3 separate regions of the Homo sapiens genome follow, and all the other regions are linked to region 1. Evidence: promoter capture Hi-C in 16 types of primary human blood cells and fetal thymus (Javierre and others, 2016). All regions are on one chromosome and are shown on one strand. The core of a region is centred on a gene start or on the middle of the fragment in contact, and the rest is flanking DNA. Distances in the headings are between cores, read along the strand shown.

Evidence for each region. Contacts are between HindIII fragments. The CHiCAGO score rates a contact against its expected background, and 5 or more counts as called.
Region 2: a fragment that was not itself captured here is called in contact with the fragment with the promoter of ARHGEF28 in region 1 in 1 of 17 cell types (endothelial precursors); the score reaches 8.3 in endothelial precursors.
Region 3: a contact is called between a fragment that was not itself captured here and the fragment with the promoter of ARHGEF28 in region 1, in 1 of 17 cell types (endothelial precursors). The highest score is 5.4, in endothelial precursors.

Annotation. Positions count from the first base shown.
Region 1 is chr5:73,624,541-73,628,404 of GRCh38, forward strand. ARHGEF28 (Rho guanine nucleotide exchange factor 28) reads left to right here and starts at 1,656. Exons shown (of 36, transcript NM_001177693.2): 1 at 1,656-1,782. RefSeq lists a silencer at 1,365-1,454. The HindIII fragment of the contact is 6,049 bases long and covers 1-3,864 here.
Region 2 is chr5:73,794,057-73,797,920 of GRCh38, forward strand. It overlaps ARHGEF28 (Rho guanine nucleotide exchange factor 28), which reads left to right. Exons shown (of 36, transcript NM_001177693.2): 8 at 346-398; 9 at 1,275-1,335. Among named protein-coding and RNA genes, the nearest start is that of ARHGEF28, 170 kb to the left of the region's middle. RefSeq lists an enhancer at 1,985-3,184. The HindIII fragment of the contact is 186 bases long and covers 1,554-1,739 here.
Region 3 is chr5:73,758,198-73,762,061 of GRCh38, forward strand. The region is part of intron 4 of ARHGEF28 (Rho guanine nucleotide exchange factor 28); the gene reads left to right. Among named protein-coding and RNA genes, the nearest start is that of ARHGEF28, 130 kb to the left of the region's middle. The HindIII fragment of the contact is 1,715 bases long and covers 739-2,453 here.

The sequences.
Region 1 (3,864 bases), core at 406-2,905:
AGTTCAAGTGATTCTCCTGCCTCAGCCTCTCGAGTAGCTGGGATTACAGGCACGCACCAACACACCCAGCTAAATTGTGTGTTTTTGTGGAGACGGGGTTTCACCATGTTGTCCAGGCTGGTCTCGAGCTCCTGACCTCAGGTGATCCACCCGCCTCAGCCTCCCAAAGTGCTGGGATTACAGGTGTGAGCCACCACGCCCTGCTCAAAATTTTTTCTATTTTTGAAAAGAATATTATTGCTTTTATTTTTATCTTGTGTACCTTGACACTGGGCAGGATATATATATATATTTTTTTTTTCTTTTTTTTTTTTTGTGGCAGCGCCTGAGGCCAGGCCTTGAGTTCACAGCTCTGTGGGGCTGAGGGTGGAATCAGCTGGGATGACAGCCCAGGTCAGGAGTGCAATGCCAGTGTTGGGGTCCCTTTCCCAAGGCGGAATTGCAGCCTTTGCCTTGGAACAGGGCTAAGGCATTCAGACACACGATGGTCTTTCTCTTGCTAATCTCAGCCTTTCTCAGCATTCGTATCAGCAAGGTGGGCTGGGGAAGGTGGCGGCTGGAAGGGAGACAGAAAAGGCCCAGGCCCAGGAGAAGTGGTGGTGGCAGCCTGGGAGCTGGGCTCCATTCTGGCTTGGGATCTTGGTGGCCAGCTTCCTCGGGCCACACCTTTGTTATGGTTCTGTGCGTAGCCAGTCTTCAAAGGAAAAACAAAGCAGAGACTCAAGGTGATTTTATAAATTTTATTAGAAACTTTATATTTCAATACTAATTTCCTTACAAATAGTCTTAACTATAACACTTACTGCCACAGCAGTCTCAGATGGGCAATTTTACCTTTAAAGCTGCAATAATGGTCTTAAGTCTGTATATGAGAGCCTGGCTGATGAAGAGGCTTGGCTTCTGCTCTTGGGGCTGTCATCACATCTAAGAGGAAAACTGCTTTGGAGGATAAGGAAGTCCCTTCACATTGCTGTTCATTGTAAAAGTGGTTATGGTTTTCATACGTTTTTGAATTAAGACTTGCAGCCACTTGCGTGCATAAACGTGAAGGGAATCGCAGCTTGCAAAGCTCTCGGCCAGGGAACATGAGCTTCAAATAAGAGGGCAAATGCTGTTTTTAAAAATAATATTTCCTATTGTAATAGACCCGGGCCGTATTATGTCACGGGTGTGGTGGCTTTTGGCTGGGAACAGCCTGAGCCTCCCTCGGGCCTGGCACAACTCCTTTCGCGAGCGGGCAGCCCAGCGCCTCCCTCGGGAGGCGCCAAGGCGTGGGGGCGCCCGGGGCGCAACTGGCACTCCTGTGGCCCGCCAGGTCCGCGCCAGCCTCCGCGCCTCCGATCTCCGGAGGCCAACGGCCGCAGCCCCGCAGCGGGAGGGGGCTGGCGGAGACAGCGCGGTAGGGGCAGCTTCAGGTTTCCTCCTGGAGCCGGTGTCGGGCGCGGCCGGCGGGCGGGCCTCGCCATGTGATGCGGCCGCCGCGAGCCGGGCCGGGAGGTGGGCAGGCGGGGATCCAGTGGCAGCGGGGAGGCGCGGGGGGAGCGGGGGGAGCGGGGGCGGCACCCGCTGCTGGCGCAGCCAGCCGGGCCCGGGCGCGCGGCCGCGGCTCCACCCCCTAAACCTTGGCTTCAGCCCGGCCGCCGCCAGGCGTTGGCATCGCCGGGGAGAGCCTTCCGGACTCCGGGCGGCGGCTGGCTGGGGGCGCGTTCCGAGGCGCCCTCAGGCAGGGCGCGGGGGCAGAGCCTCGCCTGGGTTCTGGAGGCTGCGGGGCCATCGCTCCAGGTAAATGCTCTTTGGGACTCCATCGTCTGCGTTTCCCTGCAGCTCTGGGCGGAAAAGTTTGTCCACCTGAGTTCGCATCCGCAGGGCCACTTTCTCCAGGGTCCCCAGGGATGCGAGGGTCAGCAGAGGTGACCGGGGAACCGCTGCAGGCGCTGCGGCGCGAGGGCTGGGCGCCGCCTCCCGCTCCCTCGGGAGCGGCAACAAGTGGAGAGGGCGGCGCAGCCTCGTGCGGCGGCGGCAGCTGCGGAGCGCGGGGTCGCTCGGGCGCACTGAGAGCCGGGGGCTGGGCGGGTGAAAGCCCCGCCAGTGTCCTTCGGGAGACAGGGAAATAAACAGCACTCCTGCGGTGGAGAAGGGAGAACGTCGAGAGTTGGTGTCCGCCCTTCCCATCCATGCTTCAGCTCCGGGACTGAGGGTGCTTGGCAGGGCCAGGACCGCAGAATGCAGACGGAACGCAAGCTCAGGACACACGCACTACCACTTACTCGTGTGGAAGCATCTGCTGTGTTTCAAAAGGCATTTATGGTTACCTTGGTTGGGAAAGGTGGTCAGAATTATGTGGGACTCCTTACGCTTATTTTATGGATTTGTTTCCCCTTAAATACCCGGGGTGTATGTGGTGGTGCCCCAGCCTTCCCGTGCTTAGGTTTTCCGAATGACAGGCCGGTGTTTGGCCAAGAAAGCACCATTTGGGTCGAGGGCTGTATGGAAACTGGGTGCTCAGGCGGCCCTGGATACCCAGCTTTGGTTTCCCAGAGACCAGTTAGATTTCTAAGAAAGAATCCATCTCTATAGGCCCACAGCGTCCCCGCATTGGTTGGCTGGGTGGGCCGAGGAACAGTGGCAACATCTGTGTTTGTGCGGCTTCTCCCGCCTTGACCCCTGCCTGGGTATCCACACATCTCCTCACACCAGGAGTTATAGAGGTTCACCACGGACCACACCAATTGGGCAAAATCCAAAGAAAGTAAGATCTTTAATTTTCGTTTATAAAGAACTGATCATTTGGGGTTCCATGGGGCCCCTGGCTTTCTGAAGCGTTGTTATCTTGTGTTCCTAGGCCCTGAAGCTGTCAGGTGTAAGTGAAATCCTGTTTTCACTGCAAAAACAAATCAAGGACCTACCCTTGTTAGGTTCTGTGGCATCTACTTTGTACATGACAATCCAAGCGTAGTGATGACTTCTGGGAAACCTGGGAAGGTTTCTCTAGATCTGTCCTGGGTTTTTAGTTACACATTCCTAAAGCACATGGGTATTTGCCTAATCTTGATTAATAGCCAAAGTAACCCCTTTGGAGTATTTGCAGAAAAGAGATGAATATGGCAAAACCCTTTGGAATTTTTAATACAACATAGTATTTCAATGTAATGTTCTGATGTGGACTCTATATGTGATTATTGGGCTGATTAACTTTGATCAAATAGGAATTTGGCTAGCATCAGATCTTATAGCTAATGGTTAGGGAAACTGAGGCTCAGAGCTAGCTATAGAGTGTGTGACTCAGATGAATGTCTTGGGTAATGGGAGAATGGAGAACAGAGAATCAGTGTTTGTCCTGCTTTTGACTTTTTTTTTTTCCTTATCAAAACCACACAATCTGGCCAACTAAGAACAGGTTGTATAGCAGGCGTGTCATTAGACTTTCCTCTGAAGTACCCAACTGTCCTTTAAGCAGTTTATAAACACTTAAAGGTAAAGAAGAAAAATAGTAGTTAATAACTAAGTTTCTATGAAATGTCTCAGAAGCCTCACTTGGGTGGGTTTCATACTTTTTTTTTTTAATTATGTGAGTACTGCAGAAGAGTTTGGAATGTTTTCTTATTGTGTTCTTATAAGAAACTACACTTGTGGCTAAGACTTAAATTGGGCAGGAATTTCAGGTGAGCTCTGATACATGACCTCCTTTAGTATGCCCCGTGAGAAAAGACTATGTGTTCTAAGTAGGTATTAAAACAAATTGCAGCATATACTATTACTTCTATATTAAACATTCTGTACACCACTATATTGGTACCCAAGCTCCAACAAGTCCTGCCAGTTTATGACCAAGGACTGAATTCCAAGAAAAAAAGATTCATGATA
Region 2 (3,864 bases), core at 397-2,896, 170 kb after region 1:
CGTCCTTACAATCTGCTATTTTGAAGAACTTGCGGTAGTGAGCAGCCTTCCTTTGGAATCAAGGGCATTTATTTATTTAATGATAATTTTTTCCCCTTCAGGATTTCCTGTGAGAGCTCCTGGGCTTGTTTCCATCTTAGTCCACACAGATAATACCAGAGTATGGACAGTCGGGTTATTAGACACTCTGCTCTGTGGAGAGCTGATTTTTAAGAGGCCTAATCTAAAAACCTATCTCTGTGCAGAAGGCTCCTGGGCAACTCATTTACACTTGTCAGCTAGTAGTTGTTGTTCTTCTTAACAAAAGCTCCCATCAGCAGATCCTGATAATTATTTCTTTTGCAGAGATTAAGAATTCAGTGTCCAGCAGATCAGCAGCTGAAAAGGAAGATATAAAGGTAATGAATGACTCCCTGCTTCTTTCTTTGCACGTCTTTCCATAAAGTAGAAATGAAGATTTAGTGGTAATAAAAATGTTTAAAAAACACTAAAAAAAGGATGTGCCCCAAGTCACTTTCAGAATAATGTGAAATTCTGTTTTCTTTTTCTTTCTTTTTTTTTTTTTTTTGAGATGGAGCCTCGCTCTGTCACCCAGGCTGGAGTACAGTGGCACGATCTTGGCTCACTGCAACTTCTGCCTCCTGGGTTCAAATGATTCTCCTGCCTCACCCTCCTGAGTAGCTGGGACTATAGGCGCCCACCACCACGTCTGGCTAATTTTTGTATTTCTAGTAGAGATGGGGTTTTGCCATGTTGGCCAAGGTGGTCTCGAACTCGTGACCTCAGGTGATCTGCCCGCCTCGGTCTCCCCAAGTGCTGGGATTACAGGCATGAGCCACCGTGCCCAGCCCCATTTTCTTTATCAAATTCTTAATCCCTATTCTTTATAACCAAACCTAGCTATCTTTCTGAGTTGTAGTTGTATATGCAAGATGATTGAATACATTCTGCAAAACAAATTTCTACTTGAAGTTTGATGTTTATAGATATTTGACAACAATGTGATTACAAGAGTAAATGTGGGAGATGTCCTCTGAGAATAAAATAACCTGTGTACAGCTTTCAGGTGTGTTTCAGCTTGGGATAGATTCATTACTCACTTTTAGCTGTTAAATAATATTAAGTATAAGACTAGTTTTCTGTTTACATGTGATGATACTTGTAACATGTTTTCATTGATGCTTTCCAAGGTTGTTTTTCTAGTTCACAAAAATAAACATTAGTGTAGCATATATGTAATTTTTTAAAAATCCACCTGACTTTATCTCTTCCAGCGTGTCAAAAGCCTGGTGGTTCAACACAATGAACATGAAGACCAGCACAGCCTAGATTTGGGTATGAAATAACGCTTTTACCTATACTCGTAGGGGCATCCCAGATCCAGGTTTAGAGTGGACAAGAAGCAAGTAAATTTTAACATAAAATATTCCTTCCTGGTAACCTTATCTATTTCCTGAAACGCATCCAGATAAATTTTATTTGTAGGATCATTTGTAATACTATGACTCTAGAGGTTGAGACTCCATTTACAATCTAAAAAACAAGGCAATCAAAGCTTTTCCTGAACAGTTTTACTCTGAGCCAGAAGCTGGCTCTGGACTTGTCATATGTTCCCTTGTTATTTCTGTGAAGTAGGCACTACCAGTCTCAGGTTCAGGTGAAGCAGTTGAAGCACTGGTGGAGAGTAGATGGTGGAACCGAGACTCATAACTTCATTCCACCTGGCCCTAGAATCTCCAAGCTTACCAAAATCCCATTTTGATGCCCAGTGGGGTCCCCTTGGAGCTGAGCCTATGTGATCTACACTGCTGAGCTCAGGAAAAGACCAGATGTTTGTTCTGGGATTTGAGTCTGATGTGAGTGTCCTTTCAGAGGAACCAGGTGTTCCTCCACCCTTGGCAAGGTAGAGGTATTTCCTCCCTCTGACCTGGGAATTCTCATCTGATTACAATATTCTGTTTCACAACTCCCTGAGGACCCCTTCCTAAATCTCCTCCCAGGTACTCTCTATTTCTTCAAGGCTAATTTGGACCCCAGCCCTATCTCTTGAGTTACTTAGAGGTGAATAGAGCATAATGAAGCTAATGGGGTGTTTGAAGATACAGGCTGAGCTATCAGCAGAGGCTGAGTTTGGGCACCTGGATGTCTGTGAAGACCTCTGGGGCTGACAAGTGAGAGGCAGATGAGCACGAACCACTCCAGTTGGTTTCCTCTGGTTCTGTGAAGCTGAGGCATCTCACACACCTGGAAGGCACACATGGGCAGGACAGTCTTAGAAGTTGCAAGGGGTGAGGTGTTGCTGATGGTAGTGACTGAGGGCTCAAGCTGATGTGAAATCAGGAAAAGCTAAATCAATGCTCAGAGTGAGATTAATGGAGAAGGTGGGTAACCCACGGGGTCACCGTGAGCCTACACGTGCATGGGGCTCCCTGGAGGCTGAGGGAGTGTGGTTGGTATGCTGTGCCAACACACGACAGAGCAGTTACAACCATTCGGAAATCATGCTGTGTAGAGCAGAGCAAGGAGGAAGCACCCTTGGTGTTGGTTGATGGTGTTGCTAGTAGCTTGGCCACATGCCAGAGGTGGTTTCCAGGATCTTGCTGCATGTGGCCCTACTGAAATTGGAACAGAAATTTAGACCCACACTAAGCAATATACACGTCCTTAATATTTTTGCTATTTAAGGTAAGAGTAATGATTTACTTACAGAAGAGGGGAAGAGGAAGGCAAAAAGAGAGCAAACATCTCTGTATAGATGGCTGTTGTGGGCCACTGATGTCAGGGCCATTGCTGTTACTCACGCACACAGGATGTCTCAGCTACAAATTGCATCATGCTCCTGGGAATGTTAGCTTTGAAGAATGTTTGCTAAGATGAATTGCTGGGGGAGGGAGGTAGGCTACTAAAAGTATTAAACACTGAGACGATCTTAATTTCAGGTTTTAAAAACTCACTCTAGTTTCAAACTTGTAAACTTGTGAGCAAGAAGCATGTGCTACGGAAATTGTAGTAGTCTGACCTCGTCTGAGTGTTTTGTCAGTAACATCATTAAGTCTGTGAAGGATTTGAGAAAGATAAATGAGCACAACTTTAGTCCAGTGATTTATGAAAAGGACCATGATGAGTGTTTGTTGTGCTAGCATTTTCTTTTTGGTTCATTTAAACTTTTTGAATTAATAAAGTCCCCTGAGTTTTTGCAAAGGAAATTATAACAGATTTTCAAAGAACCTGAGAGAGAAGGGGACAGCAAGCTGTGAGCAATAGTCAGATGGTCAGACACAGTCTGGAATAGGAAATGGGCTCTCCCTGGAGGCCACTTCAACACTCTTTTGTTATTTGTTATCTGTTATTTTTTATTTTTTGAGATGGAGTTTTGCTCTGTTAGCCAGGCTGGCATGCAGTGGCGCCATCTTGGCTCACTGCAACTTCTGCCTCCTGGGTTCAAGCAATTCCCCTGCCTCAGCCTGCCGAGTAGCTGGGATTACAGGCACCCATCACCATGCCCAGGTAATTTTTGTATTTTTAGTAGAGTCGGGGTTTCGCCTTCAAACTCCTGACCTCAAGTGATCTGCCAGCCTCGGCCTCCTAAAGTGCTGGGATTACAGTCATGAGGCACCACATCTGGCCTCTTTTGTTATTTTATAAGTGCTTTATTCTGCCCAGTCTCTGAGGAAATGCTGATAAATGGTGTGGGATAAACACATGATAAATGCTGATAAATAGATATGTAAGTCTTTGCTGACTTGTATTATTCAGAATTGTGTGGTGTGGATGTGGCCTCATCAGTGACACAAGTGCTGTTCCAGTGGCACCCTCTGTGCTGATGGACACATTTTATAGCTGTTCTATCCAGTGTAGTAGCCT
Region 3 (3,864 bases), core at 346-2,845, 130 kb after region 1:
AGTAGCTTCTCTCCTAACCTATGGAGTAGGTCGAGCTTGTCCTGGTTAGGATTTCTAATTTAAGAGAAAAATAAAGCCCAGTTCCTTAAAAAAACAAAGAGGTCATATAAAGAATATTTCTCACATATGTTTACACTTACAAACTAATATATAACAATTTGGAAGACTCAAGATATTTTTTGCCAGAGTAAATTACTATTGTTTTCAAAAACGAACTTGGACTCTTCCAGTTGTCTAGGTAAAAGTAGTTCATGTGATCAAAGGTCTCCTAACAGGCAGAAGTTCTTCTGCTCATTATGGAACAGGTGCATTCTTTGTTATATCCATCATAAAAACATAACCAAACCTGTTTATTTTTTATTTTTATTTTTTTTTTGAGACGAAGTCTCACTCTGTTGCCCAGGCTGGAGTGCAGTGGGATGATATTGGTTCACTGTGACCTCTGCCTCCCGGATTCAAATGATTCTCCTGCCTCAGCCTCCTGAGTAGCTGGGATTACAGGTGTGTGCTACCACGCCTGGCTTATTTTTGTATTTTTAGAGATGGGGTTTCACTATGTTGGCCAGTCTGGTCTCGAACTCCTGACCTCAAGTGATTCACCCACCTCGGCCTCGCAAAGTGCCAAACCTGGTTTTGTAAAGGTACTAGCATGAATTGAATCTGCAGGGCAAAAATATTAAAGTGTTTAACAAAACAAAGTATTACCTGGCAGATTGCTTCGTCAGGTTTAAAGAGTTAAGCTTTTCTCCTGCCTTTGTGATTGGTTCTATGAGTGAAAGAAAATTTTAAGGTAACCCAATTGAACTTTTGGAACTCTTCTATAGGAATGTTTTGGACTTCAACACAGCTGATGTATTTAGAGGATCCAGCTTCTCATTCTGTGGGTCCATGGTTGGTTGGAGAGCTGTCCCCAAAGAAAACCAATTGGTGGAACTAGCAGGACCCACTGAGGGTGGCTTAAGAATTGAATATTTTCCAAAAGTCAGATTAAGAGTACACTCCTTAACTTGCAAATAACACCAATAGAGTTATAACAACCACAACAGATTTAAACTTGAATCCAGAAATTAGAGAAATGATTTGTTAGTTTCAAGGACAAATCCAAGTACAAGTCACAGCATAATGAGTAGTAAGTTAAAGGAAATATAGAAAACCTTGTCATGGCCCACACATGTAATGTATAGGTAAAGTAATGTGATGCTCTTACTATGGAGAAGGGTCGTTAGTATAACGCTCTGCTCTTGCCTGAATAGGGTCTTCATAAATTAGTTCCTTTTGAAGGAGAATGTTTGTTTTTCTATGCTTTACACATAATGGAAAGAAAAGGAAAAGAAATACAGAGGCCCGAAAGGACTTTAGAAGACGTTTATAAGAGTTAGGGTTATCTAGCAGTTCTTTTTTTCCCCTAAATTTATTATTATTTTTAATTCAATAGCTTTTTGGGGAACAGTAGATGTTTGGTCCAGCAGTTCTTAAAATGTGTCTTGATTGTTCGGTGTTCACTTAAGTTTAAAAAGCAGTTTTAATATTGCTTCTTATCTGCAGGAAAAGCCATTACATAGGAATTAACAGTTCATTACAAAAGAGTGGATGGGAACTACTCATTTTATGTGACAGCCACATCTTGCTTCAAGCCACATACCCTGAAACTTCTAGGCAACAAGAGAAGGGAATATGTGGCCTAGCAATGTTTGACAGAGAAAAATATCTGTTTCTCTTTCTTTGAATACAGAAAAGAGATCTGTAGCCAGTAGGAAGCAAGATTTGTTTAATGTTTGAAATGGAGCGTGGCTTGTGGTTTTATCTTTGAATACTGTCTGCTGGCTGTAGATATAGAAAGAAAATAGAGCAAGGCCCCAGAGCCTGGCACTGTGGGTTGGCCTGATGACTGCACTGTGTCCAGGTCTTACTAACCAGAGAAGGGCAAACTGATTTATAAGACTTACTTGCTGGCCCACAGATGAAGTAAAATGTCAGCTTTGTTACTCTGCCATAAAGCTCTGTACTGGACAGCAAGTTTGAAATAACATTAGCTGAAACACCAGTGGGTAGGAAACCCATAAAGGACAGATTTATTACAAAATACAAGAAATACAAGTTTCCAGTGTTTTTTTTTTTTTAAGTTTTGAAATCAATACATTATGGGTAACAACTGATTCAGGGGTTTTGTATGTTTCTCTTGGAAATCTTGACATTTTTCAAGGGGTTGTGTACACACTCAGTATTGCTGTCTAGCCTTCTGTCAATTCTGATAGTATCTAATGGGACAAACATCTCTACACCTTTTCTGACATTTCAAGCTGGTAGTATACTCCTTCTGTTGCTAAGGCAACCCACTGGATGAACACTAGGGGTGGAGAGAATGTTCTTTAGATCCTATGGCACTTGTTATGATGGTAAATCGATAAAATTGTTTTACAGTTCTCAGCTATATATATGTATATTATTTGTGAAGCTTTAAATCCTTAATTTTAAAATGTCTTCTTTGTCTTACATTCCTTTTGTAGTTTTTAATTTTTGAGGAATATGTTTTCTGGCAGTAAAGAATTTAATATAGAATTAAACTTCTAAGGAAAAGGACTCCTCTCCCCCCAATCATTTGAATTCATTTTTCAGTTTAAGTAGGTAAACTCTTATTGAACACATTCTCTGTTTAAGGTACTACATGTTAAATAAGAAACAGCAGCTTAACTCTTCCTTAAAAAATAAGCTTCCTACTTTTGTCTGGCAACAATGGCCCTTATACTGGAATAGAGAATTACGCACTTACTCCCACTTCTGGGAAATAGAACGTAGAGTTGGATTCCGGTCACTCTCTCTCCCTCAATTATAATTTTCAAGAACAAAAAATGTAAATGGAAGCAAACAGCCTACCCAATGTGCTTCCCAAAGGATTCGGGACTGTAGAAGGTTTTTGAAGTCCCATTCCTGGCTTACCTCCTCTGGGGCTTTTCTCCCCTTAAAACGTAGCAGGATGCATATAGCAGTTTTTGCTTGCACGCAGAGGATTAAAGCTGAATTTAAAAAATGACAGTAACCAAGGAATATCTTCATAACCTTGAAGGAGAAAGTTAAAATTTTGCTATTCTCATAGATTTCTTAATGGGATTTGAATGCTGGCAGTTGTCCTTGTACTATTTTATCTACAAACCAAATGAAATATTGGTTTGTAGATAAAACATTGGTTTTAAAACTACCAATGTTTGGAGGTTAAAATCCCCACGATTGAAAAAGTTGGGTAGGAGAGATCTGGGGAGGAGAGTGAGGCAGGGAGCCAGAAGAGATGGTACATTCTTAGGGAAATGAATAATTGTGCGTCCTGTTCCAAAGTCCCCCTTTACTTGGCCCAGTGTTGTTTAAGAGGCCTTGTCTTGACTCTCTCAAATATAAGCCTTGGTGTGGGGATGAAGCTGTATGGATAGAAACCTCAAAAAATCTTCTGTAATCCTACCCTAGGTCCCCATATACCTACTGTCCTTTTCCACACCTATAACTGTAGTTGCTTTTATTTTGCAAGTTTGACATGAGAATGTATGTGTACTGTGAGTGGCGACACATCAGGTCAATATCTGGAGGAGAGGAGAAGCATGAGTGACGGATGTGAGCCTGGGTCCTTAGAATTTGCTCAGCTCAAGTTCCTTCTGCTTATTTTTCCCTCACTCTCAATTTGTTGATTTTTTTTAAGATGGGGTGTCGCTGTATTGCCCAGGCTGGTCTCAGACTTCTGGGCTCAAGTGATTCTCTTTCCTCATCCTCCCTAGTAACTGGGACTATAGGTGTGTGCCACCACAACTGGGTAATTTTTTTTTTTTTTTTTAGAGATGAAGGTCTTGCTATATTTCTCAGGCTGGTCTCCAACTCCTG